Regions from separate parts of the Homo sapiens genome. Here all the other regions are linked to region 1. Evidence: promoter capture Hi-C in human tissues and cell types (Jung and others, 2019). All regions are on one chromosome and are shown on one strand. Each heading gives the region's core, a stretch centred on a gene start or on the middle of the fragment in contact. The rest is flanking DNA. Distances are from core to core; before and after follow the strand shown.

Region 1 (4,503 bases), core at 1,081-3,580:
GGATACCAAGGTATAGAGAAATTAAATGACTTTCCTAATATCAGGCAATGAGGAAAGGCTGGGGCCTGAGCTGGCATTCATTGTTTGTTGATAATAGTCTAGAACCACCACAAAGAAATACACAAACCAACTAGGACTACCCACACCAAGCTAGATGAGTCCCTCTGACTTTCAAAAAAGCTCATTTTATATGAAGCCAGGATTTCAAAATCACTTAATTTTTCTACTCATATTTTCTGAATGATAAAAAGGGAAGTCTCATTAAAAAACTCTTTGATAAAAGTTCACATCCTGATCAATGATTTGCCCTCTAATAAACATGACTCATGTCGGTTTCTAAATGTTGTCTGAGAATTAATTTTAAAAAATCCTAGGTATGACATTAATATAGAATACTCATTTGAATTCCATCATAAAATTGGAGCTACCTTCTGTGGAAAAACAAATTGGTCCTAAGATATAATAAACTCATATTTATAGATGTAATACATGTTTTAAATGCACATTTAAGGAGAGAAATTGTAACTCTCCAAATAATTTTTAAAATAACTCTTCACAGTACACCTAGATTTCTGATTTTTTTTTTTTTTTGCATTTGTCCAACTTCTCCAAAGGCTTAGAGAAAAACAGGTCACTCTTAATTTGATGTAATAAAACAAATCATTGAAAAGTAACTCAACTTGATCAAACTCTTTCCTCAAGATTCAAAAGCAGAATGGTACAGCATTCTGGTTGCTCAGGCTCACTTCTTAACATTTTGTAACATTTGCTAAATATTTGTAATTAAAGGGTATACCTGGATCGAAGTGTAGACATAAATTACACCCAAAGTAAGAAATGAAAAATATAGGAAATTGACAAATGTACTGTCACATTTTTGTAATCACACAAAATGAACATAATGGAGAAGAAGAACATTGCCTGGAGCAGAAGACTAAGAAGATTTAAAAATCCTACAAATTCAGTTGTGCATTAACAACAACAAAACAAGGTAGAAACAAGGAGGCAGATCCATCATAGCTATTTACCCATATGTCAGTATCCCAGAATTCTTTCTCCAATTATTGTGCCACAGCTTAAAATCCATAATGTAGAAATAATCAATAGAATAAACTTGTTTAGGAACAAAATCTATAAGCTTCAGTATTGGATAATTTTCAAATATGGAAAACAAAATTCCATATTACCAATAACTTTAAAAACTTATCAATTTATGAATTATATTTTATGTAGGTTTTAGCACTAAAAGAAATGTTTTAAGCAAATTTTCAATATTATGATGCACAGGTGAAATGTGTTGTGTTATGGAAATTGCTATAATCTATCAGAGAAAGAAAGTTTGGGAAGCAAAATTGGAAACAAACTACACAGGGTATAGTAAAACTCTTCACCTTTGACCTCTGGTAATAGAACATCCATTACACAGCATTTGAGAGCTTTATTTCAAGCTCTTAAGCAATGCCTTATCTGTATAATACATCATTTATTCTCATCATCATCATTTGCCAGCTGTTATTCAACAACATCAACTCCTGCTAAGCTTGTTTGGGTATAAGAAATGTCCTTGCATCTATGCCTGGATGGCACAGGCATGTATGCATGGGCTTCTCTGTGTATGTGCAACTCAATGTGTTGTCTTCATATGGTATACAAAAGGCAATGTACACGTCAGTACATATGCATTATGCATGAACAATTTATGAAAGCAAGGTTGATGTTGATGTCTTGTTCCCTTTCACCTCCTTTCTATGACCTAGCACAATTGTCTTGTTAAAATTCGAGATAGAGGCATGGACATAATGTTTATGAACTTTTTTTCAGAACAGTGACCTCTGTTTCCAGAGCTAACATTAATCATTATCCATACAAGACATTGCTTTTTCCAGTGATGGGAGAGAGAAGAGGCTTGGCCCTGTCTCTTCAGGCCTCAGAATGTGGCCTGAGGTCTGGCTTACCACCCTTTCTGAGGCACCAGGCTATAGAAGCTGACTCTGTTAGCTTGAAAAACTGAATGAAGCTTAGATCTTTTACTAAACACAAAACTACCCCAAACTCATCTCTGACTTCACACAGAGGGATCCCTAACAAGGAAACTGACCAAGATAATTCCTGTTCCCTTGATGATTTGCCATTTTTTAACAGATCTCCAGATCAGCCTGAAGATCAACAGGATGATGAGTCCACTGAAGAAGGTCACAAAGGAAGAGAGAATGAATGCTGCTTGGATCTCAGTTGTGCAGGACATTTTTGGCAAGTCTTCCCAAGTTTCATTTCGTAGCTTAGTCTGAAACATGTTCGAGACATCAGTAGACGGAATTGCCAGGTCATTTGATGACGCCGTGGTCGCCTGGTAACAATTCCAGGAATCAGAGTTCACTGTACCACAGTGTTCCAACATTAGGCGTGATAACCAGTGAGAAGTTCCAGGAACAAGGGTCTGCCAATCCCCCGGTGCCAGCTCATGGGTTGTGAATGAATACACAACTGGAGATGGCTGGGGCCTACAATATGAATAGTCAAAAAAATCATAATTCTAGATCGGATTGTTACGACTTTCTCTATGCCTTGAAGAAATCCCATTATCTGTAGCAATGATCAGCTGGTTATCAGTTCAGTTAATGCAGTCAAATAATTTCAAATCAACTCTTTCGGAGTGAAACAACAGCCAACTATGTGTGTGAATGAGTTGGTTCTCTATCTGGGAGGATGCCACGTGCTTAGTAGGCTTGGAAGGACAGAAGAGAGAAGTACTTTAAAGTTTTTGTTTATCCTTTATACAAAGGAGCAGATATGCAGAATGAATAAGTCTAGAAGATCTAGTGTGCAGAACAAAGAACATAATTAATAAAATTATTTGTATTCAGGATTTTTGCTAAAAGAGTAGATTTTAAGGGCTCTTGTTACACGCACACAAAAGATGATTAACTCTGTGAGATGATAGATATATGAATTTGCTTGACTGTAGTCACTGCTTCACTATGCATAAGTTTATCAAAAGAGCATTTTGCGTTTGTACTTGTATGCGGAAGCTAAAACAGTGGATCTCATAAAGATAGAGAGTAGATTCATGGTTACGAGATGCCGGGAAGGGTGGCTGAGGAAAGAAGTTGGATAAAGAGAAGTTGATTAATGGGTACAAATATTTGGTTTGATAGAAGAAATAACATCTAATGTTCTATAGATCAGTGAAGTGACTATAGCTTATGATAATCTATTGTACATTTAAAAATAGCTAGAAGAGAAAAATTTGAATGTTTCTAGCACAAAGAAAATACAAATATGTAAGTTGATTGATATCCCAAGTACACAAATTATGTGAATGTATTAAATTATCACGTGACTTGAAAATATGTGTATCTGCTGTGCATCAATCCAAAGAATATCACGTTGTACTCCTTAATTACACACAATGAAAATCAAGATTATCTTGAAACAGAAAAAAAAAGGTTTTGTTTATTCTTTACATAAGAAAGGCATAGTATAGAGTGCAGGTATTGAAGAAGACAATTTAACTAGTGTGGTCATTGGTTGATTGTTATTTCAGCCCATAAATCCATTCCACTTATCTCTTCTTTATGGAACTCTCCCCTTTCTTGCTTTTATTACTGCCCTGGCAGCAAACCTTTTGGCCCAGCAGAGGTAAAGTTCAGAATGAGAGAAATTTCTTTGATTTTCCCTGATGTTTTCAAAGGTGTAAGAAATGTCATGCCTTTCAGTGTGCACAAGTGGCAGGCAAAATGTCAGAGCCCAGTGGAGGGCCTAGTTCACCCCAGTTATTACCAAGATAACCTGACACCAGGTGAAGAGGCCCAAGAGGAATCATCACGCTGTCCTTGGGAGCCCGCCATGACTCCACACTGTTTGGCAGGCTGTTTCAGAAGATAACTGTAGCATTTCCTAGGACTGCTGCCACAGTTACATTTCCTGCTTTTAAGCTTACCTATCATTTCTACAAAATCCTGTCATTGAGCTAGCTAATAACAAAGGGCGATGTTTAAAAGAACACTGGTCTAGGAGTTAGGAGCCCTGCGTTCCAGCCCAGTCCTTCTATTAAGTTACTGTGTGATTTCTAACAAGTCATTTTAATGTTCGTAGTCTTTTGATTTTATGTGGAAGATAATACCTACTTGATAGAATTATTGTGGGGATTCAAGAAGGTAGTGTGAACATATTTTGAAAAGCATAAAACTCAATATAAGATGCCATTAGCCATTTCAGTTCCTTTTTTGAATGGCATTAATTATAAAGACAGGAGGAGGAAGAAGTAAAGGAAAGGAGGGAGAGAAAGAAGGAAGGAGGGAGGCAGGGAGGGAGGTAGGGAGGGAGGTAGGGAGGGAGGAAGGAAGGAAGGAAGGAATGAACGGAGGGAGGGAGGGAGGAAGGAATGAGGGAAGGGAGGGAGGAAGGAAGGAAGGGAAGGAGGGAGGGAGAAATCACTTGTTTATCTCTTTCACATATGTGTGTGTGCGCACGCACACACACACACACGCGCGCACACACACA
Region 2 (4,503 bases), core at 780-3,279, 900 kb after region 1:
ACTTTGGGAGGCTGAGGTGGGTGGACCACGAGGTCAGAAGATCAAGACCATCCTGGCTAACATGGTGAAACCCCGTCTCTACTAAAAAAACAAAAAATTAGCCAAGTGTGGTGGCAGGCGCCTGTAGTCTCAGCTACTTGGGAGGCTGAGGCAGGAGTATGGCGTGAATCCAGGAGGTGGAGCTTGCAGTGAGCCGATATCACACCACTGCACTCCAGCCTGGGCAACAATGCGAGACTCCATGTCAAAAAAAAAAGAATAGTATTTGTGTTCATTCGTTTTGCATTGCTGTAAAGGAATACCTGAGACTAGGTAGTTTATAAAGAAAAGAGGTTTATTTGCCTCACAGTTCTGCAGGCTGTATAAGAAGCAGGGCACCAATACCTTCTTGGGTTCTGGTGAGGCCTCAGGAAGCTTCCACTCATGGCAGAAGGTGAAGTTGGTACATGTCATATAGCATGTCGCATAGCAAGAGAAAGAGCAAGAGAGATTCCAGGCTCTTTTCAACAAACAGGTCTTGCAGTAACTAATAAAGTGAGAATGAGAATTCACTCATTACAGTGGGTAGGACACCAACCCATTCGTGAGGGATCCACACTCATGACCCAAACACCTTCTACTAGGCAACACTTCCAACTCTGGGGATCACATTTCAATATGAAATTTGGAGGGGACAAACATCCAAACTATATCAGTGTTGTTTATTCTATGGCTTTCAGTTTTAATAAACATGGTCAAGACATTCCTGTTAAAAAAATACTGTCCACTTATTTACTGAGGGGAATGTTCTATGCCCCCCTTACAAGAACACCATCCTTGTACCATAATTAATGTTTACCCCTGGGCTCAAAATGCCCATTCAAACTGCCAAGGCTTATAGGCACAAATCAAGAAAATATAGCTACAAATCATTCTCCCCAAATAAAAGGGTCAACTGGTATTAAATTAGTTCATTTACAGAACTCATTGAAATTAGCAGCATGTTCTTAAATTGCTTCTTGATTGAGGACATTTGCCTCATTAATTTTAAACAACCTGAGAAGACTATTAAAGTCTTACAGAAAAAAAATGACCAAAGGACATAATACACAATACACATTACTATCAGGGTGAATGTAAAATCCTAGAAAATATATACCTAGAGTGAGAAATCCAAGATGAGAGGGTTTAACTGTCATATTCTCCCATGGAAGTTCCTGTCTTTTTTTTTGGTTTTGACCATTTTTTGTGTTGTCATTTTTCCAGTGAAGAACTTTCTATGCCACCAACCCACTGTCATATAATTCTCTGCTTTAGTGATTCCTCTTTCCTTTTCAATAAAGCTAGAATGCTTTTGAGGATTTAGCTCTGGCTCCTCCTCCACGTGTCCATTTAGTCCCCACCATACTTGACCCTTTCTGTTCCCTGAGTTTGCCATGTTCTTTTAACCATAATAGGTTTGTTCCTGATGCATGTGGCAAGTCAACATGCTAAGACACCAGGTTGCATCAGAGAAAGAGATTTAATTGGAGGTCTGCCAAATGAGGACATGAGAGGAAATATCAAATCCGTGTCCCCAAGGCATTTGGGCCTAGGGTTTTTAAGGATTTTGGAGTGGGCTGAAGTGTGGAGATGTTGATTGGTCAAAGAGTTCAGGGCAAAGTCATGGGACAGGGAGATGAAGAACCTGCATTCTCAGGCTGATTTGGTTCCTTTGGGGGTGGGGAGGGTCAAACTGGTTGGTGTCACCTACTTCACTGGAATTCAGGATCCAGGATCTGCTTAAGCATTTATTAAACAAAAACCTTATGATTCTAATGTCAGAGATCCTATCTATAGAAACCATAAAGATGCATGTGCTCTGTAACTAGTGTTATATGACTTCCAGTTACAAGGAAGTGGGTCAAAGTGCAGCCTAATTCGTGCTTAGTTATAATGATTTCTGGCTAGAATTGTTGTTAACTTTCTGGAATGGCTTCACTCTGACACACCTTTGGAGCTTTTTATATGCTTTATTTCTTCTTCTTTAGCCTAGGCTGATTTCTACCCACCTTTTAGAACTCAACTCAAGTATCCCTTCTTCTGAGAAGCCTCCTATAGACACAAGACTATCTTAGGTGCTCCTTGTTCTGCAGTTATATTTACCATAATATTTACCACACTAACATAATTGCCTGTTACTTTTTCTGTATCACCTATGAAAAGCCCTGTGAAGACAGAGACTATGCCTTATATACCGTTTTATTTCTAGCCCTGGCCTTGGTAGGTACTTGGTGGGTATTCTTGAGTGAATGAACAAATGAATGAATCAATTAGCTCAAAACTTATTAAGCATTTTTTTCTGTGCAATGCCATGTTCTTGTGGAGGACACAATGACGTCCCTATACTGGAGTGAGCACTCAGTATTTCACTGCAGAAAAGTCATGCACACAAATTACTAGAGTGTAAGTTACCAAAAGATTCTAATAACAAGGGTTCTGAGGAAGGAGTAACTATTTTTCCTTGAAGACATCAGGGAATTCTTCTGGTGTGGGAGAAGGTGGACAACATAGTACATTTTATTTTAATATCAACAGTTAATATGTAAGATTTGTATTAAAAAAAGATAAGGCAGGAAAGAGGATTCTGATTACAGGGAAGGAACAATATGAGCAAAGATCCAAAGAAAGAACGTTATTCATATATTTATTTATGCATTCATTCATTTACATATTAATCAGTGATCAAAAATTTATTGACCACCTCCTACTATGTGTCAGAAACTGTGGTAGGCACTAGATATTCAGTAGCGAGTTAAACAACCTCAGTACCTACTCCATAACACTTTTATTAAGAGGAAAGAAAAACATTAAATAACTAGTTCATAATTATCTACTTATTGTAAAAGTACTATATTAACTATATTTAAGAAGAAGGTCATACTTATCAGGAGAATGAGATTGAGGAAGTGTATTTTTATCATAACTTTTATTCTAGGTTCCGGGGTAGATGGGAAGGTTTGTTTTACAGGTAAACTGTGTGTCATGGGGGTTTGGTGTACAAATTATTTTGTCACTCAGGTACTAAGCCTAGTATTCATTAGTATTTGGTTTTCTATTCCTGAGTTAGTATGCTAAGGAAATTGGCCTCCAGCTCTATCCATGTTGCTGCAAAGGAATAATCTCATTCTTTTTTATGGCTGTTTAGTGTTCCATGGTGTATATGTACCACATTTTCTTTATCCAGTCTACTACTAATGGGCTTTTATAATGAGTGAAATTTGAACATGTTATAATCCTGATAGCAGTAATATGGAAGATAAGGTTAAGATACAATTGAAAGAGCAAATAACCAAGGAATGATATTTCATGAAATGCAAAAAGGATAGTCTCCGGACAACATGACCTTAGATTTTAAAAATCAGAAGCAAGAGAAAATGGGTCTATGTATAGGGTTTGGTGATTTAGAAGTGGTAAGTTGAGGTTGCACCTGTGGTTCTCTTTCTCTGAGAAACTGGAGGCCAGATAATTTCCTTATGGTTTAAAAAATGTAGAGAAAGGAAATGCTGTTAGAGGTTGAAGCAAATGAAAATGGGCATTTGTAAAAGAAAAATCCAGTTCAGTTTGACTTAGGGTTTGAGTGGTGGAAATTTTCAGAAATGAGGTTGGGAGTGAAAACTGGGGGCAAATTGTAGACAGTTTTGGCTAATAAAGCTCAGCATGCCTGCCCTTACACTTCTGGCTGACTTACTGGAGAAGTGGGAAAAAAGGAACCTGTAACTAAAAGCTACTTTATTTTTCAACTTAAACAGAAGAGACTCTTTTTTTATAAAACATCTTTATTCTTCCTGGTTGTGCTAGGGGAGAGGAAGAGGTCTTCCACTTTTTGTGGCTGCTTCTGGACTGATGTGAATAAATTCTTGGAAGAAAGGAAGTCATGGAACAACTGTTGCTTAAAAGGAACATAGACCACCTGACAACCTCTGCATTATCGGTAGACAAAGTTGGCTCTTATTAATGTCCTCTCACAGATAATGAGATGGCACAGTCGACAACAGATAGCTGGACCAGAGCTTCGAGATCATTTCTTTCATCTGTCTCATCTCACAGTTCATGAGAGCATGCTGGGTAGTGAAAAACCCCTGCAGTGTGCATCACAAGACCAGAGCTCTAGTTCAGCTTCTGTCTGACATTCAAAAGATCACTTAAATCCTGTCTTCTTCCATTTGTACAAAGAAATCCTTCGATTTGTCCAACGTTTGAGTATTTTAAATTGCAAATATTTCTAGATCATTACTTCTATCCCCAGTGTAGCCTCTGATCAATTGTGTTTTAACCATGGCTTTCCATACTATATAGGTCAAAGAATTTTAGCTGGCCATCTTATGCCAACCTTATAATCCTTCTAATCAATTTTGTGTCCTTCTGTTGATCTTATCAAGAGGTTATAACTAATTTGAAACATAATCAAATACAGCATACTGGAAGGGCAAACATGGTTTAGGAGAAAGAGAGGATTGTATTTTCTATTTTCATTCTCATCTA
Region 3 (4,503 bases), core at 1,010-3,509, 650 kb after region 1:
ATGCTGTTTATAATCATTTCCCATGGAAGTTAACTTACCGCTAGCCATTCTATTAAAAACAGCATCTGGGATTCTGTCTCTGGACACTTTGCTGACTCAATCATTACAGTAGCACTATGATGCAAAAAGATATAAATATGTACTACAATACCTGGCACAGAAACTCTGTGATTCATGGAGGAAAAACAAGGTTTACAAATATTAAGTCATAAACTTGTCTATATAAAAATTCATTCGATCATTATAAATGAAACGTGACAAGCAGATAACTCAGTTCCTATCAATGTCTAGTCAAAACCGAAATATACTCAATAATGCAACATACAAAATTATAAAACTACCGTACATTTTTTGCATGGTAGTTATGCAAAATAGAATTTACCTAAATTCATATTATTGTAAAATACAAAATGATCCAAATACTACAAATAGCAATGAGTATGATTGTAAGTCATAAATGAAAGAAACTTGATAGAGATTTATAAAAATTTGTCTATACTACTAAAAAAATTATACGATATTACCGGTAATGAATTGTGAAGCAAAAAAATAAAAAGAGGAATGCTTCTAAACCCTTATTCATAAAGAAACAGATATTTATCAACCATGATAGATTTAAAAAATAATTTTTCAGTGGCTCATGCCTGTAATCCCAGCCCTTTGGGAGACCAAGGCGGGCAGATCACCTGAGGTTGGGAGTTTGAGACCAGCCTGACCAACATGGTGAAACCTGGTCTCTACTAAAACACAAAAAAATTAGCCGGGCATGGTGGTGTGTGCCTGTAGTCCCAGCTACTTGAGAGGCTGAGGCAGGAGAATCACTTGAAACCAGGAGGCGGAGGTTAGAGTGAGCCGACATTGCACCACTGCACTCCAGCCTGGCAACAGAGCAAGACTCCATTTCAAAAATATATGTATTTTAAAATGAAATCATTTAGCAATTTTTTGCTTAAATATAAAAATACTTTACTTAAAAAATTTACTTAAATTTCTATATTTTATAATTTTATATTTACTTAAAAATTAAAAAAATATATTTTTCTACCTCTCAGAGACACTGAAGATAGCATCAGGAATTTGCTTACAATCTCATCTTCACCAAATATTTGAAACTCTATTTAGACAAAGGTGCAGAAACACATGTGGTGAAGACATGATATTTCTACTCAGAAATAGAAGTTCTGATCTTGGCTTAAAAGTCTATGAGGTGAGGACCTCTGCATTGCAGACTCCAGGGACACAGGCTCTCTGGTCTATTGACTTGGAAAGCAGAGAGAAAGAGAAGAAATGAGAGACTCAGGCATCCTCTGTAATTATTTCTCTGTCAGAATTATAGTATCTCAGAAAGCAATCTGTCATTTGTAGGAAACTCTGTGAATCAGCCAACATTTTCTACATTATCAAAGAAATGTGATGTGGTTTGGAGGAGAGGTGGAGACAGTGAAAATGAAGATGCTATTATACTATGGCTTTCAATTCCAAGATAAACTTTCAGAGAAATTTGTCAAAATTAGCTACGATGTTCCTTCTAAGTAGTGCTCAGCTGTCACCTACTCTAGGAAAAGAAGAAGCATGAAGGATGACTTTGTATTCTTCACCATGTCTCCTTGTGTCTGTCAATAAGGAGATGACTATGAATATGGAGGATAGTCCCTATTGACATATTTCAATCATGTCAAAAGAACCAGAGAACATTAATACTAAGTATACCAGAAATTATAACAACTTTTTCTATTTAATTTTGCTATTGTGGCTTCCATCTTCATATTTCAAAGCTTATTATAATACATGACTCTTGCATTTATCCCCCACCCCAACCCCAATCAGTCAAGAGAGTTTTATGGATTTTCCTGAGTTTGATAGTGAAATGCCAAGAACCATGGAATACAGCCATAAAGAGTGTTAGTTATGGCTGGGCGCGGTGGCTCACGCCTGTAATCCCAGCACTTTGGGAGGCCGAGGCAGATGGATCACGAGGTCAGGGGATCAAGACCATCCTGGCTAACACAGTGAAACCCCTTCCCTACTAAAAATACAAAAAAATTAGCCGGGCATGGTGGCATGCACCTGTAATCCCAGCTACTCAAGAGGCTGAGGCAGGAGAATGGCGTGAACCCAGGAGGCTTGCAATGCCTCAATGCAAGCTCAGCTTGCAATGAGCTGAGATCACACCACTGCACTCCAGCCTGGGCAACAGAACGAGACTGCATATCAAAAAAAAAAAAAAAAAAAAAAGAGTGTTAGTTATTAGATGAATGTACTCCTCACTAAACACAGTTGTCTTAGGTAGGAAAGTTGTTTATGCCTACGGGAAATAGAGTATGTTAAATAATTAATCGAATTGAATCAAAAGATGGTAATTTGATCAGCAAACGTTTTTTATTAACAAAGTTGGGAGAAGAGATGAGAAGGAGAAAGAGATCATAACCATACTGGTGGGAAGATTTAGAGATATGTAAGATTATCATCACTTCCACTTCTCATAAGATAGAGTAGATATAATTTCCCTATTCTTCCCACTAAGCACAATTTAAAAACTCTAGACATTATATATAAAACAAACATAAGAAGACTCTAAAAGATGGAGAGAAGAAGGCAGACTGGATAGGGATGTCAGCAAGGAACAACATGGTGGTGAGTTTTGTAGGTTTTCTGTTTCCATCATATATCCCAAACTGGTAGCTGAAAAGCCAGTGTCCCAGAAACAGTGTATGAGGAATGGAAAACCTCAACGAAAGCTTGTTCTCTCTAGCCAAAGGATCAGGAAGGGGTAACATAAAAATACAAAAAAAAAAAAAACTTTTAAACTGTAAATTCTCTATTTCAACCAAACATCATAAAAATAAATACAGACAACTCCCCACCCACATCATCAAAAACCAAGGGCAAACACAGAATCCCATGCTAATGACACTGTTGCAAGGTGCCCCAGCAACTCTCCTAGCACGAGGCCCAAGAAAGCCAAGTAGGGAGTTAGGACTTCCAGCACTGTTGGGCCATAACAAGATGTTCCCTGTGGTGTCATTAGAGACTACATAGGTTGCCTGGACTTCCAGCCAACTGAAAATCAAAACAGGAGAGGGCCCTTCTCCTCCCCACTGAAGTGGTATCAGAGGATATCTAGCAGAGAGTCAAGTTTTTCATGACTAGCCATTAGTATTAAGGTCATCCCTCTGTGATTTCAGTGGAGACTACATGAGGAACAGTAACAAGTACTTGCCTCAGCCTGGGTGTTATCAGTAGAGGCCCAGAGGAAAGCCAGAACTCCTCCTCCACCCAACAGTAATGAGAAGCTCTCCCCCTCACTGGATTCAGTGGAGGCCAATGTGAAACTGGGCTTCTACTCCCACCTGACAGTAACAATTCAGCACTCCCAGGCTCTCACTGTTGAAGCAGTGTCAAAGGGAACCAGTTAAAATAGAGGGTTTAAATAAGATTCAGAATTTCATAATATACTACCTCAAATTTCCAGTTCTCAATTTTAAAAATCACTTGTACCAAGAACCAGGAAAATATCAACTTACAAAAAAGGGAAAATCAATAGATGCCATCACCTAGATGACAGAGATGTTAGAATTATCTGACAGAGATTTTAAAGTAGTCATCATAAAAATGCTTCAACAAGCAACTACAAACATACTTGAAACAAAATAGTAGAAAGTCTTGGCAAGGAAATAGAAGGTTACAGCAAAGAAATATATATATATTATATATAAATTATATTACATATATATACATTATATTTATGTATATATACACATTATGTATATGAAAATTTTAGAACTGAAAAATACAATAAACAAAATTTTAAAAGCTCAATGGAAAGTGCCTTGTTTAGCTCAATCTGCCAAAATAAATTACCACATATTGAGTGGCTTAAACAACAAAAATGTGTATTCTCATAATTCTGCAATCTGGAAGTTCAAGGTTGGTGCCAGCATGGTTAGGTTTTGGTGAGTGCTGTCTTTCTGACTTGCAGATGGCCACCTCTCCCTGTGTGCTCACCTGGCCTGTTCTCATTTGCATAACAGGGAGTGGGAAATCAATCTCACTTACTTTTCCTTTTCTTCTAAGGGTGCTAATCTCATCATAAAGGTCCTACCTGATGAAGTCATCCAAATTTAATTAACTCCTAAAGGCTTCAGCTGCAAATACTACAGCATTGGGGGTTAAAGTTGCAACATACAAATTTGGGGTTGGAGGACACAATTCAGTCCATAGCAGAAGGACTCAATAGCAGGATGGAGAGGCCAGAAGAAAGAATTAGTAAACTTCATTATAGAACAATAGAAATTACCCAATCCAAACACCATAGAAAAATTACTCTGAAAGGAATAAATGAATGGAACATCAGGAACATGTTCATCTATAACAAATATTTAACACTCATGTCATCAGAGTCTCAGAAGGAGAGGAAAATGAGGGCAAGGATGAAAAATTATGCAAATAAATACTAACTGAAAATTACCAAATTTGACAAAAGACATTGACCTAAGAGGCTGA
Region 4 (4,503 bases), core at 894-3,393, 630 kb after region 1:
TCTCAAACTTGCTATGCTATACATCTAAAATGCATTTTCTCATTTCACTCTCCATGTCTATTATATCTGCTTTTTCCATAGTCTCTCCCTAAATCATACTAAATGGCAGTAGCATTAACCTGGTAACTCAGACCCCACATTGATAAATCACCTGTGATACCTCCTTTTCCTTCACTCCTACATATACCCCATCAGCAAGTCCTATTGGTGCCACCTTCACAATGCAGTATATCCTTAATCTGATTGCTTCACCCTGCCTACACCACTACTACTCTGGTTATGACTGGTATTATGTATCTCCTAGACTGCTCTCCCTTCTTTCACTTTTGTCCCCCTAAAACCAATTCCCTTATGCTTAGCAGCTGAAGTAATGTTGCTCCAGCTCAAACTTGAGTGATATTCAGAACAAAGTTTGACCGCGATCCGTACTGTGATCGTAGGACTCTACATGATCCAGCCCTTCCCAGCTATAAGAATGAGAATATCTTATCCCCTAACTCTTTATCCTCTCCTCTCACTTTGTTCTAGCAACAGTGGGGTTATTTTCCTATTCATTAGCTATACCAAACTTATTCTTGCTTTTGATAATTTGTACTTGTTCCTTCCTCTGCCTGAAACACTTCTCTTCGAAGGACCTGCATGGTGAATTCCTGCAGTCCAGTCATATGTCTGTTCAAACATCACTAGCTCTGAGAGGCTTTCTCTAATTGTGCTACTCAAAAGAGCTCCTCTCTCTCTATTGTCACTTTCTATTTTCATATTCTGCTTTATTATACCTTAAAACACGTAAACTACATTGAATTGTGTATCTATTTGTTTACATATTTATGATCTGTCTTCCTAATTAAAAATATAAGTCCCATGAGGTAGGCTCTTTGCCTAGATTTTTCATCCCTATATACCCAGTACTTAAAACAATGTCTGGTCCATAGTACACACTCAGTAAGTATTTTACAAATGAAATTTTGAAGAAACTATTGCATCAGGTCAATATATTTAATTAAAATCTGACCCTGTTTTGCAAATTAGCTTTTTCATTTTTATACATGACCTTTTCTTAATTCCATTTTATGAGATAAAAAAGGAAAACGGGAATGTCAATAAAACAAAAGAAATTCTAAGACAAGCTTAGATTTAAATATTAAAAGCATCAATCATAATCATGTCCTGTGTTTCAACAGCACTTAGTGATTTTCTTGGTACTATCTTATATTCTGTCCTATTTAATCCATATAACAATCTTCTATTAGTATCTCCATTTTGCATATGAGAAAATGAAAACGAAATGAATCTGAGGGACTTTAACAAGTTCTTGCTGCTAAGAAGTGTCAGAGACAAGATTAGAAGATGCTTCTGTCAGACTCTTCATCAAGGATTTGCTCACACTCTCAAAGCTAATCTAAAAACTTTCTACTCTGTGCCGGGTCCAATATGAAAATCTGAAAATCGAACAAATTTGAAATTGACATTCCATGGCTCACATTATGAAAATGACAGTTTTCCTTAAGAGTCAAACTCTAATTTGAAAAACATTTTTTTCTGATTCTGGAACTCTGAGAATGAACAAGAAGGGGAACTTGGCTCTGCAAATTCACACTTTTGGAGCAGGGGCTATAACACGGGTGTCAGGCAGAGAAGACTTACTGGCAGGGAACGTACTCAGGCCCTATCTGGTAAAAAGACGTCCAGGTGGGTCAAGAATCAAATGAATTAATACAGAAGAGCAGCTGTAAATGTGCAGGTATAGGCTGAATTCAGGCTGGATATCTTAGCTTGGGGTTGTGTTTTATTTTGTTTTTATTTGTCTTATATTAGTGTGGTGGGGGTTTTTCTTTTTTAATTTGGGTTTAAATATTTCATATTCTGAGTATCTAACATAAAAGTCTGAGTTTCTCTGTTTTATTTTCTTTTCTTTTTCTTTTTTTTAAATAGAAGACAGCTGATTTACCATGCAAAATCATGGCAAACCATGAAACGATGTAGCTGCTGCCTCTTCAAGTGGGGTGGCTACTTTCTGTTTGCCACACTTCCCATTCTTACTCATAACTGCCACCTTTCTGCTTTGCTCATTTACATGGTTTACTTGATGCCTGTAGATATTTGAGTTTGTGATGTTAAATTTAGAGATTCCTAGCTATATGAAGCAGGAGGCACCAGAGCATCATCAATGAGATTGATTTATCAATGGTATAAATGAGTTGCAAGAACATGTAACTCCAAACTGAATATTTTTGTTTGGCAGCAATAAAAAAACCTCCTTGAAAAGTGTCTTCTTAATCCATGTGTTGCAGCTAGATAGAATAGATGGGTAGCCAAAACAGCAGCTTTCTAGTAGGGCTGATTCCCAGGTAATCTGCTGCTTTAACATATGAGCTGGGGATATTTATTATGACCTGATTTCCTCTCAATGTCTTCCTCTACAGCATCCTGTAAAGTCTTGGATGAAGATCTTCACAGGTATAGTATAACCCCCTATTTGTGAAGGGTGGAACGTACTACCTAAAATATAGACCAAGTATTTCTGTTGGTATTGTGTAGAAGAGAGCGAAAAGACAATGGAAAATAAGAGAGAGAACGAGAGACCATGGGCACTTTAAGTAAGGACAATACTGGAGACAGTGAGCTTGTGACAGTCCCTGTGTTACTTAGGACAATGCCACGGTATTGGGCATTGTAAAAGGAGAAGAATGGCACTTGCAGTAGGAGGCGATGTCTACTCCCCTTCTCACGAAGAAAAATACGGGAAGAATCTTCTCACTCCTCCTTCCCCAGAGAGGCAGAGTCACTTACATTACTCCCATATTTAGAAGATGTAGAATATTCTCAACACAGCCTCACATTGTCACAGTGCATCCAGTATGTTTGTTCTCATCCTATGACCTCTGGATGGTGATGGCATCTTCAGTGTGTCACCTCATGAGTGGCACATGCAGAGTAAGTTTCATTTAGAGAGAATGTGGTAAACATCACTTCGATTGACCTCTTTGGCCATTTCTGGGTGTCAGACTCTTGATTCAATAGGTAGAGAGCACCACCAAGCAAGGATTTTTCTAGAATTTGAAACTGTGAAGACAATAAATTGACTTATTGCAAATAACCAGACCTGTATTTTGAAATGAGGTCTCTTATAAATTGATTTCTAAATATATAATTACTTACAAAGAGTAGTTATGGTCTTTGCATCATATTCTATTTCCTCTTCACTGAAACTCTGGTTATAATGGTATAGGGTGGCCACAGGAGCAGTGTGGGTCTAGAGTGGCCCTTCTTCTGTGTGAGGCACATTGCTCTTCTTTGACAAAATCTGGTCTTCTCAGAAGTGTTTGCTTTTTATTTCAGAAACTTAATTAGTAATCACACAAAGTTATTCATATTTTCTAGTTACTCCTAGGCATGGCTTTCAGCCTCCAGGAGAACTTACTACAGCTCAGGTGAGAGATAGTGCTCTACCTGTAGGATCAGAATTCTTATTTCTGGCCTTTATGTTCTTTATATTACCTTTACTTTCTTTTATGTACTGTGATGATGTCGGGAAGTGGTTTTAAACTTTCTTTCAGAGATCTATATCTGTATACCTACTGGCAATGGGAACTGAAAATTGATCTTCTCTCCGATTTACAGTCCATAAAATTTCCTGTATTCCATCACAAAGATAGTGACTCGGAACATTACTTTTTAATCACTTCAGGCCTACTTCAGTGGTTTCCAAATGCCTTTGTGTAAATGGACTGCATCAGAATTGCCTGGGAAGTGTATTAAAATTACAGATCCCCAGGTTCCAACCCAATCATTCAGAAGAAACTCCAGAATTGACTCCCTTTAATCTGTATTTTAAACAAGAACAAAGGCAATGCTTATTCCAGCCCCCAGTTTGGAAATTTATAAAAACACTATGACTAACATGCACCTACAGCCAGCAGTCACTAATTTCTGAATCAATCAATCAATGAATGGGTAACATTCATAAACATGAAAAAGACAAAAAGGGTACTTCTGAGCCTTCTAAAACCCTGACCCCAGACAGCTGAAAGACTACCACCTGTTTAAAATATTAATGCAGCCTAGACTTCTGTATACAAGCCAATGTTTCTGCTGCAATAACCAGAAGTCAGACATATTACCAAACAAAAAAAACCCCAAAATATATTTTAGGCATCAAAGAGCTATGGAAGCAAGGAGAATTAGATGATCTACAGCTCGAGAGGAGAATATTTCCTAGGTGACCTGATTATATCCAACCTTTTTGTTCATCTAGGAGCATTTGCCAATCCTGTGAATAAGATAAGGATAGTGTTCACTGAGAAACTCTTTTGGGGAGAATGAGGACATCAGTAAGCTTTGTAGAGATTCTGTGGTGGTGGACTAACAGTTTAGAAATTTCGGAGAGTGCAAATGCATAGCCAGTTTTCCCTATGAGAAACTTGCTAAATTCCAGTGCTGAGTAGATGACTAGGACAGTAGGCTGAAAGTTTCTACAAGGCAGAGTAAAATTTCCTGCAGGTT
Region 5 (4,503 bases), core at 895-3,394, 560 kb after region 1:
GGGTCTTGACTGTTTATCCAATTTGCCAGTCTTTCTCTTTTAATTGGGTCATTTAGTCCATTTACATTTAAGATTAATACTGTTATGTATGAATCTGATTCTGCCATCATGATGATAGTTGGTTATTTTGCACACTAGTTGACGTAGTTTCTTCATAGTGTCATCAGTCTTTTTTTTTTTTTTTTTTTTTGAGAGGGAGTTTTGCTCTTGTTGCACAGGCTTGAGTGCAATGGCACAATCTCAGCTCACTACAACCTCTGCCTCTCAGGTTCAAGCAATTCTCCTGCCTCGGCCTCCCAAGTAGCTGGGATTACAGTTGCCTGCCTCCATGCCCAGATAACTTTTGCATTTTTAGTAGAGACGGGGTTTCACCATGTTGTCCAGGCTTGTCTTGATGGTCGTTATGTTTTGGTGTGTTTTTGCAGTGGCTGGTACCAGTTTTTCCTTTCCATATTTAGTGCTTCCTTCAGGAGCTCTTGTAAGTCAGGCCTGGTGGTGATTAAATCCTTTAGCATTTGCTTGTCTGGAAATGATTTTATTTCTCCTTCTCTTATGAAGCTTAGTTTGGCTGGATATGAAATTCTGGTCAAAAATTGTTTTCTTTAAAAATGTTGAATATTGGCCCCCACTCTCTTCTGGTTTGTAGGGTTTCTCTGGAAAGATCCACTGTTAGTCTGATGGGCTTCCTTTTTAGGTGACCTGACCTTTCTCTCTGGCTACCTTTAACATTTTTTCTTTCATTTTGACCTTGGAGAATCTGATGATTATGTGTCTTGGGGTTGATCTTCTTGTAGGGTATCTTAGTGGTGTTCTCTGTATCTCCTGAATGTGAATGTTGGCCTGTCTTCCTAGGTTGGGGAAGTTCTCATGGATAATATCCTGAAGTGTGTTTTCCAGCTTGGTTCCATTCTCCCCGTCACTTTCAGGTATAACAATCAATCACAGGTTTGGTCTTTTCACATAGTCCCATATATCTTGTAGGCTACATTCATTGTTTTGCATTCTTTTTCCTCTAATCTTGTCTGTATGCCTTATTCCAGCAAGGTGGTCTTCAATCTCTGATATCCTTTCTTCTGCTTGATTGATTCAGCTATTGATACTTGGGTGTGTTTCATGAAGTTCTTGTGCTGTGTTTTTCAGCTCCATCAGGTCATTTATATTCCTCTCTAAATGGGTTATTCTAGTTAGCAGTGCCTGTAGCCTTTTATCCAGGTTCTTAGCTTCCTTGTATTGGGTTAGAATATGCTTCTTTAGCTCAGATGAGTTTTTTATTACCCACCTTCTGAAGCCTAATTCTATCAATTCATCAATCTCATCCTCTGTCCAAATTTGTGCCCTTGCTGGAGAGGTGTTGCAATCATTTGGAGAACAAGAGGCATCAGGCTTTGGGAATTTTCAGCGTTTTTGCACTGTTGTTTCCTCATCTTCATGGATTTATCTACCTTTGATCTTTGAGGCTGATGACCTTTGGATGGGGTTTTTGCGGGGGGTCTTTTTTGTTGTTGTTGTTGCTTTCTGTTTGTTAGTTTTTCTTCTAACAGTCAGGGCCCTCTTCTGCAAGTCTGTTGCAGTTTGCTGGAGGTCCACTCTAGACCCTGTTCACCAGGGTATCACCAGTGAAGGCTGCAGAACAGCAAAGATTGCTATGGGTATACTTTTCAAGGTAGTTGAACAAGAACTAAAAATTTATTTTTAATTTCCATTAACAATAAACAACATTCCTAATCCCAACAAGATAACTGGCTGCCCAAAAGTTTCTTCATGTGTATTATCTGATGAGCCAGAATTTAGAACAAATAATCTGGCCATGGCACAGATTAAAATGGTGTTTCTCTGATGGACTTCTGATAGGGAGGTAGGGAGGCCATCATGGAAGCAAAGACCCCTATTTGTTTATCTCTTGTCATTAGTCTAATACATACTTCACAAGTGTGTGTTGACTCACGAGGACTGAATGAAGTAGTGACTGAGTGTGTCTTAATGACATGGCAAATAATTTTTTTTTTTTTTGAGGCAGAGTCTCATTCTGTCACCCAGGTTGGAGTGGAGTGGTGCAATCTCGGCTCACTGCAACCTCCACCTCCTGGGTTCAAGTGATTCTCCTTCCTCAGCCTCCCAAGTAGCTGGGACTACAGGCATGCACCACCACATCCAGCTAATTTTTTTGTATTTTTAGTAGAGACTGGGTTTCTCCGTGTTGGTCAGGCTGGTCTCAAACTCCTGACCTCAAATGACCCTCCCAGCTCAGCCTCCCAAAGTGCTGGGATTACAGGAGTGAGCCACTGTGCCCAGCCAGTTATTTTCTCTATCTTATGTATCTGTGTGATCTAGGTGTTTACATTATGCAATTCCTTAATGTCTATACTTCTGTCAGATTAGCAATTGAAAATTTACTGAGCCAGGCTCGTTCTGTCTGTTGTGAAGTGTGCCAATTACTGAGAAGATGAGTTTTGTACAGAGAAAGGGTTATTTACAAGGCAGCCAAGCAAGGAGATAGGAGAAAAGATCTCAAATCAACCTCCCTGAAGATGGAGTTTTAGGGATATTTATGGGATACAGAAGCAAGGTGGTCCAAGGCATAGTGAAAGGTGTTTGGGGGTAAGGAAAAATGAGTCAATTGGTGATCTGCACAAGCACAGTCAAGTTTCATGGCTCTCCATGGGATGCATGTTCACAAAATGGCATCATTAGCATGATCTAAGGGTGGAGATTTTTGCCCTCTGACATCAAAGGGTCACCCATCAGAGATTAATGCAGGCCAGTCAAAAGGTCTCAGCCAGCTCGAGCTAAACAAAAATGGACTCTAAGTTCCCACAAAACAACTTAAGCAACTGTTACTGTGGTGACCTATACACCAGAGATATTACCTATAAGGAAGCCAGTGCAAGGTTAGTTATATATTGCTTAGCTTCATGACTTTTAGGTCTATGGGTTTTAAAATAAACTAAAAGCAAGTGACTAAAAAACAAGGGAGAAAAGTTAACATTGGCGGGCCCAATCAGGTTAGCCCTCAGTTTTAAAAAGACCTATGATTTTTCATTTTGACCCCTCCTTTTTCAAATCATGAAACTGAGAATGATAGAGGCCAAGTAATGGACTCAAGGTCACTCACGATTAAATAGAAGCAAAGCTGAAATCCATACTCGGGGTAAAGGTGGCTCCCTGCAGATGGGTTTCATTGTGAATGAGATTCTGAGTGCTGATGTCATCTGTGCATGGTCATGGGAAGAAGCTCCGTCATCCTCAGGAATGAGACCAAGCCAGTTACAAAGAACTGATTCCAAGCCTCCAAGTCTGAACTAATGTCCACAGAGCACCTCGTTTCAGCTGTCCATTAAACAGCAATCTACAGGCGAACATTTCCTTTTTTTTACTTTATGAAATTTATATAAATATGATTCAGAGAAAAATCTTTGTTACAAAGCTTTTACTTTAGAATAGAAAGTTCCCTTTAATGTCTTATCTAAATAATATAACTACTTATCTATATATAGCATAGGGGCCAAGGGAAAACTTCCCCTTCACCACTGATGGTTTGCTGAAAAATCAACACACAAAAGGCAGATTAATAGGAGAAATGGCACACAAATTTGTTAGTGTGCATGGGGCAGAGTGATAGTGCCACCACACTATGGGTATAGATGATTATATAACCCATTTCTCAGGGAAAGGGAAATGGAAAATTTGAATGATTTTAGGAGATAGTAAATAATTTTTAGGGAAATTCAACAGGCTTGAAGAACATACAATGACCTGGGGCAAAGCCTGTTGGACTCAAACAGCAGACAATGGCTTGTGACAAAAGTCTGTCCAGGTGTGTTGACAGACCTCAGTCTTTCTTCCTGCAATATTGTCAGAGGCATTTGAACCACAGCAACTCCATCTTGAATATGAGCTGAGTAAAATGAGGCTGAAACCTACTGGGCTGCATTCTCAGACGGTTAATGCATTATAAGTCACAGGGTGAGATAGGAGGTCAGCACAAGATACAGGTCATAAAGACCTTGCTGAAAGAAGCCTGCTAACACCCACCAAAACCAAGATGTCCACAAGAGTGACCTCTGGTCGTCCTCACTGCTATACTCCCACCAGCACCATGATGGTTCACAAGTGAGTGCCATGGCAATGTCAGGAAGTTACCCTATATGGTCTAAAGGGGGAAGGCATGAATAATCCACCCCATGTTTATCATATCATCAACAAATAACCGTAAAAATGGACAACCAGGCCAGGCACGGTGGCTCAGGCTTGTAATCCCAGCACTTTGGGAGGGCCAGATGGGCAGATCCCGAGGTCAGAAGATAGAGACCATCCTGGCTAAGGTGATGAAACCCCATCTCTACTAAAAAAATATTAAAAAATTAGCCTGGCCTGGTGGCAGGTGCCTGTAGTCCCAGCTGCTCGGGAGGCTGAGGCAGGACAATGGCGTGAACCCGGGAGGCAGAGCTTGCAGTGAGCTGAGATAACGCCACTGCACTCCAGCCTGGGTGACAGAGTGAGACT

The links. Contacts are between HindIII fragments. The study calls those that stand out against the background at their distance.
Region 2: a fragment that was not itself captured here is called in contact with the fragment with the promoter of KCNU1 in region 1 in 1 of the 25 tissues and cell types used here (dorsolateral prefrontal cortex).
Region 3: a fragment that was not itself captured here is called in contact with the fragment with the promoter of KCNU1 in region 1 in 1 of the 25 tissues and cell types used here (mesenchymal stem cells).
Region 4: a contact is called between a fragment that was not itself captured here and the fragment with the promoter of KCNU1 in region 1, in 1 of the 25 tissues and cell types used here (mesendoderm cells).
Region 5: a fragment that was not itself captured here is called in contact with the fragment with the promoter of KCNU1 in region 1 in 1 of the 25 tissues and cell types used here (heart right ventricle).

Annotation. Positions count from the first base shown.
Region 1 is chr8:36,782,201-36,786,703 of GRCh38, reverse strand. It overlaps KCNU1 (potassium calcium-activated channel subfamily U member 1), which reads right to left and starts at 2,330. Exons shown (of 27, transcript NM_001031836.3): 1 at 2,099-2,330. The coding sequence starts at 2,293. The HindIII fragment of the contact is 3,588 bases long and covers 1,780-4,503 here.
Region 2 is chr8:35,879,753-35,884,255 of GRCh38, reverse strand. No RefSeq gene overlaps it. Among named protein-coding and RNA genes, the nearest start is that of UNC5D, 650 kb to the right of the region's middle. The HindIII fragment of the contact is 5,030 bases long and covers 1-4,503 here.
Region 3 is chr8:36,130,610-36,135,112 of GRCh38, reverse strand. No RefSeq gene overlaps it. Among named protein-coding and RNA genes, the nearest start is that of KCNU1, 650 kb to the left of the region's middle. The HindIII fragment of the contact is 3,009 bases long and covers 755-3,763 here.
Region 4 is chr8:36,155,414-36,159,916 of GRCh38, reverse strand. No RefSeq gene overlaps it. Among named protein-coding and RNA genes, the nearest start is that of KCNU1, 630 kb to the left of the region's middle. The HindIII fragment of the contact is 4,753 bases long and covers 1-4,503 here.
Region 5 is chr8:36,221,435-36,225,937 of GRCh38, reverse strand. All of the region lies in intron 1 of LOC105379371 (a long non-coding RNA gene), which reads right to left. Among named protein-coding and RNA genes, the nearest start is that of KCNU1, 560 kb to the left of the region's middle. The HindIII fragment of the contact is 5,277 bases long and covers 1-4,503 here.